Regions from separate parts of the Homo sapiens genome. Here region 1 is linked to region 2. Evidence: promoter capture Hi-C in human tissues and cell types (Jung and others, 2019). All regions are on one chromosome and are shown on one strand. The core of a region is centred on a gene start or on the middle of the fragment in contact, and the rest is flanking DNA. Distances in the headings are between cores, read along the strand shown. Region 1 holds the start of DENND4A (DENN domain containing 4A). Region 2 holds the start of SPG21 (SPG21 abhydrolase domain containing, maspardin).

Region 1 (2,700 bases), core at 35-2,534, 800 kb after region 2:
GCTTGTAATCTTCTAAGACTTCTTTTACATTCGGGCTATTCTTTTCATTAACGTATAATACATTTTAAAGAATAACATATTCACAGAGTAATACAATTTCTGCCCTCACGGGTCTCTAGCTGGCTGACACGCGTTTTCTCCTCAAATAAATACATGCCTGTTGACTGATGCCTGTCCTGCTGTTGCAAACAAGAAATAACTGTCCTATAAGACAAAAACCTCTCTCTACGGTTCTAGGCGTAACCATACGTTTGAATTAAAAGCACATTGGAACAACAACAACAATCTTCCAGCACATCTGTCATTTAAAAGCACGATAATGAAAAGCTGTCGCTGCGACCCAATTTTAGGTCACAAGCTTTTTACTGTTTTTCCTGCCCCCCACCTCCAGAAAACAATAAACTTCAAAGGGAATGGTGGTAACCAGGAACAGTTCCCTTCCCCCACCACACACCCCCCCAAAAAGACTAGAAAAAAAACTGGTCAACTTGGACGCTGGCCGCGCTCACGCAGAACCCGTGCCCGCGGGCCGGGGAAGGCTGAACAGACCCTGGGAGGAAAAGTGGGCCTGCAGGCACCCCGGGCTCCCCCCGCCGCCTGTCTCAGATACCGAGCAGGTGGGATTCCGGGAAGCCACCTCCGACTTACGTAACGGGCTTGTCAAAATCCCAGATCCAGGACCTCCCCCTCCCCGCCCCCACTCCCAAATAACAACAGCCCCAGGCCAGCCTGGAATAGAAAATCTGGAATGAAAACACAGGAGCCCCCCACGCGTCCGACGCAGAGGCGCGGGTGCTACTCTCAGCACCGCCGCGCCATCCCGGGGCGGACCGAGCCGCGGAGCACCTCCCGGATCTCAGGAGCTCTCGGGCGGAGATCTCGGCCATCCGTGCCTCCTCCCCGAACCCACCCGCCCCGCTCCCGCGCCCCCGGCTGTCACCTCTCCGGGCCGTGACAGCTCCACCTGCCACCGCTGCCCGGGTCGCCGCCCCCGCACTCACCACCCAGCTGGCTCCCGTGCGAGCAGCGGATCGAGCTCGGAGAGCGGCGCCGGAATCCCGCACGCGCGGTAGCGGAACACGAGGGGCTGAATGCCGCGGCGCTCTGAGCCCGCTTAGCTCATCCCCAGCCCGGCGCTCCGCCCTTCGCGGCACCCCCGCCCGCCCGCCCAGGCCTGCCGTCTCAGTCAGACGGGACTCCCCCTCCCCTCGCGGCCGCCACTGCCTCCGCCTCTTTCTCCGACTCTAGCCTCCGCGGCCACCGCGACCGGCGCCATCTTGGCAATGACGGAAGGGGCGGGGGCGGGAATCACGCCCGCGAGCACCAATCGAAGGCCGGATCTGGCCCGAGTGGGAGGAGAGGGCCGAGTTGAGGGTCGTGGGGTCCTAGCGCCAAACTGATAATGGGGCGGTGAAGGTGGGCGGGACTAAGTCGCCTTAGTCCGTGACGTGCGGTGTAGTTGGGGAAACGCACCGTGGTTCCCCGTCGGGTCAGGAGATCCCGAGCCCCAGGCTGGCGTGGGCGAAGCGTACAATCCCTTCACCTTTCGTCACCCAGAGGCACAAGAATCCAGTTCGCGCCAACTGACCTGTTTCTTCCTTCCTCCCCGGCACTCTGGGAGTCCTGAGATTGCCTTGCTCGGTTCGTCTCAGACTTGCTAGATCTGAGCAGCTGCTGCTCCTCCACCAAGGGTGCTCACATTCTCCAGGAAACTCCCTTAAGGGTTAGCAACCGCCGAGTAGGTTTCGGTCCCAAGATAGAAAGGTAAAGCGGGGAATTCAGGGGGTTTCTCCGAAAAGTACGTTGATGAAACAGCTATTGTTGACTGACGGGGTGTCGATTACTTTGGATTAATTGGATACGGCCTACTTAAACCTGACTGTGGCTCTCCACCATTGATGGCTGTTGACAGATGAGGTTAATAAAGCTTGATTACCCCCATGGGGTTGCTCGGGAGTTAAATTCTATAGTACCTGTGAAGTACTTAGTATAGTGCTTGAAAGTACTCAATAAATGTTAGACATTATTCCATGGACAAATGAAAGAAGAAACAGGACCCCCAAAATCCCTCTGCTTTAAAGTCAACTTTTCCTAAATTGCATAGCCTTTTACTAACCAAGTTTACAACTTTATTTCCTACCTCCAGTTCTTTCATTGTATTCATTCATTCAGTCAACAAACATCCATACAGAGGGTGCACAGTGGTGAGGGAAACAGAAAACCTTTGCCTTCAGGAAACTGCAGTTTAGTGGGAGAAGAGGGACAATAAAAAAGTACTTAAGCACATTTTAAGGGGAAACATGCTATAAAGGTTAGAAAAATAACTGAGGCCAGGCGCCTTTGCTCATGCCTGTAATCCCAACGCTTAGGGAGGCCGAGGCAAGAGGGTCAGCTTGAGCTCAGAAGTTCAAGACTAGCCTGGCAAAATGGCGAGAACCCTGTCTCCACCAAAAATACAAAAAATTAGCCGGGCGTGGTGGCGTGCGCCTGTGGTCCCAGCTACTTGAGAGGCTGAGGTGGGAGGATCGCTTGAGCCCCAGAGCCGGAGGCTGCAGTGAGCCGAGATTGTGCCACTGCACTCCAGCCTGGGTGACAGAGCAAGATTTTGCTTTAAAACAAAACAAAACAATCGAGTTGCATACTTTAAATATATGTAGTCCTCTGTATGTCAGTTAAAGCTGTAAAAAAAGACTTGTTTTT
Region 2 (2,700 bases), core at 74-2,573:
AAACCTTACAGGAGGAAAAGGTGCCTACCTGACATCTGTGACATCTCTTCTCATGCTCTTGGGAAAAAAGCTTTTGGAATTTGGACACAGCTATTAAGTTACTCCTCAGTGGCCAGCCGCGATGGCTCACGCCTGTAATCTCAGCCCTTTGGGAGGCCGAGGCGGGCGGATCACGAGGTCAGGAGATCGAGGCCATCCTGGCTAACACGGTGAAACCCCGTCTCTACTAAAAATACAAAAAATTAGCCGGGCGTGGTGGCGGGAGCCTGTAGTGCCAGCTACTCGGGAGGCTGAGGCAGGAGAATGGCGTAAACCCAGCAGACAGAGCTTGCAGTGAGCTGGGATGGCGCCACTGCACTCCAGCCTGGGCGACGGAGCGAGACTCCGTCTCAAAAAAAAAAAAAAAAAAAAAGTTACTCCTTAATTTGTTGAATCTTTGTGCCAAAAGGAGCTGAACCAGTGTAGGTGGAGACAAAGGAAGCAGCATAAATGTCTAACTTATAACTCCCCAGGAAAACGAGAAGAGGAAAAATGAGACACTCCGGTCCCGCTCTGTTCCTCATCCCCCGTTTACAAACCTTACACCTGGCCCACACTCAGTAACAACAAAGACATCTATCACTTTCAGGCCGAGGTCCTGTCTCCAAAATTACTGGCCTCTGCTCACAGTTCTTAAAAGTTTGCTGAGAAAAAAAAAAAGAAAGAAAGAAAGAAAGAAATGTTCCTGGGCTGCAGTCGTGTAGCCCCAGGATGGGTTTACAGGAGGATGCCCCGGTTAAGCCCTGTGCCGCCCCCACCTCCCGCTGGAGACTCACACACAGCTCCCCGCCAGTCCCACCGGTGACAGCCACACAAAGGCAGGGTCACAAGCACACCGACCACCCCACAGCCCAGATTCGGCCCCAGACACACACTCACAAGGGCACGTGATCACGTGCGTGGTCACATGGACCGGCCCACTCAGAACACACTCACAAAGTCACACCAACCAAGGCAGCCACGCGCCACACACACACACCTACAACCCCGCATACCGCACACCCAGCCGCTTCCCAGGGCTTCGCCCACCCTCACCTGCCGTGGCCGCCCCCACGTCCCTTCCCCTCCTTCAGGAGGCCGCTCTTCGCTCCAGTACGAGCGCGGGCCGTGGAGGCGGCTGGGCCCGGGTCGGGGCGGGCGGCGGAGCACTCGGGACCCACGGGCACAGCAGGCTGCGCGGTGCGTGCGGGAGGCCGGCCTCTGAGGGGGCGGGGCGCGTGGCCGAGCGAGCTTGGGCCGCCGCGCTCCCCCCGCCCGACCGCCGCTCAGCTGGCGCGAGACTCCCGCTTCCGGGTTCTCAGAGGGCGGGGCCACGTCGCGAGGAAGGGGCGGTGCTGCGTGGCCCCGGCGGTCGCCACGGCGACGGGCGCGGGGGGAGGCTCCGTGGGATGCTTGGCTGCGGCTGGCGTGAGGAGAGGGCTGAGTTACGTCTGGGTCAGCCTTAGTTCTGCCCTACGTACCTAGGAGGAGGAGGAGGTGGAGGAGGCGCCTGGCCCCTTGGGACCTGCTTCTTCTTTCAGTTCGCGTTTTCTCTGTCGTGTACAGCTTTGGAGGGACACCTTTGGGTTCCAGACTTTGATGAACACAACTTTGTATACTCTTTTCTTAGGAACATTTTTTTTCCTTTGGCACAACCGTAGACGCTCTCCGTAGTCCTCCACTCAAAGCCTCCGCTTCCTTTTTGACGTTCTGGGGATTTCTGGGAACATACGCCCACCCATCTTCCTGTTCCTTCATCACTTTTCCCTTAAAATCAGAGAGAATATTAATACATTTGTAATCATTGTTCTTAAGGTGTTGCAGACGTCACGTCTTAAGGTGTTCCAGACTTCACGACTCCTTTTTTATTAGTAAAATATTTCTGAAATTATGATAAGGTGAATAACATGTAAATCTCCTTGTTTTGAATTTTTTTTTTAGGGATCCTGCAACAAGGTCCTGTTGAAAGTGCCTCTCTCTAATATGTTTTAGGGAAAGCTTGTACCCTGTTTTAGGGCCTGTAGACTTTGCCTTTACCTAGGCAACTGTTTATGGGATTAAGGTCAGGGAAGATTCCAACTAAATTGCATCCTACTTAGTTATCACTTCTGTCCCCTGGCCCAGGAGCCTTGGGTTCCACTCTAGAACTTGGACAAATCCCAAAAGCATTTTCCAAAAGCACGGTGACATACTTACCTTTTTCTTTCTTTCTTTTTTTCTCTAAATCATTTCTTTCGGGGTTGCAACTCAGTCGCAGGAATTCATCTTTTATTGTAAGCACCACATAGATGTATAGAGCACGTTTCCGTGGAGTATTTTAAGTTGGGGGCCTTTTCTCCAACATTTGGAATCGTTTAATGGGTGGAATAACTTGCAAACTACTGGTTGTCTCTGAAACTGGTTATGGATATTCATTACATTAGTTGTCTATTTTCCCAGGTGGTCTCGAAGCTTCAATCTAGAGCAAAGGGAATAGAGTGATTCCACCAGTCCATTAGCACATGATTAGCCCATAAATAATAGGTACTAAATGTATATTGATTGTAATCCCAGCACTTTGGGAGGCCAAGGTGGACGGATCGCTTGATTGAGCCCAGGAGTTCGAGACTAGCCTGGGCAACCTGGGAGACCCTGTCTGTACAAAAAAATACAAAAATTAGCCGGGCGTGGTGGCGCATGCCT

Evidence for each region. The method cuts DNA at HindIII sites, captures the fragments that hold promoters and counts their contacts. A contact is called where the count stands out against the background at its distance.
Region 1: a contact is called between the fragment with the promoter of DENND4A here and the fragment with the promoter of SPG21 in region 2, in 1 of the 25 tissues and cell types used here (hippocampus).

What each region holds. Positions count from the first base shown.
Region 1 is chr15:65,791,009-65,793,708 of GRCh38, forward strand. It overlaps DENND4A (DENN domain containing 4A), which reads right to left and starts at 1,285. Exons shown (of 33, transcript NM_001320835.1): 1 at 1,002-1,285. It overlaps LOC105370866 (a long non-coding RNA gene), which reads left to right and starts at 1,465. Exons shown (of 3, transcript XR_932372.2): 1 at 1,465-1,764. RefSeq lists a silencer at 842-1,171 and enhancers at 1,173-2,138, 1,362-1,981. The HindIII fragment of the contact is 3,785 bases long and covers 1-2,458 here.
Region 2 is chr15:64,988,591-64,991,290 of GRCh38, forward strand. SPG21 (SPG21 abhydrolase domain containing, maspardin) reads right to left here and starts at 1,324. Exons shown (of 9, transcript NM_016630.7): 1 at 1,075-1,324. RefSeq lists enhancers at 531-1,032, 1,033-1,532, 1,588-1,657, 1,698-1,757 and silencers at 761-1,055, 858-907, 1,028-1,517. The HindIII fragment of the contact is 3,841 bases long and covers 1-2,242 here.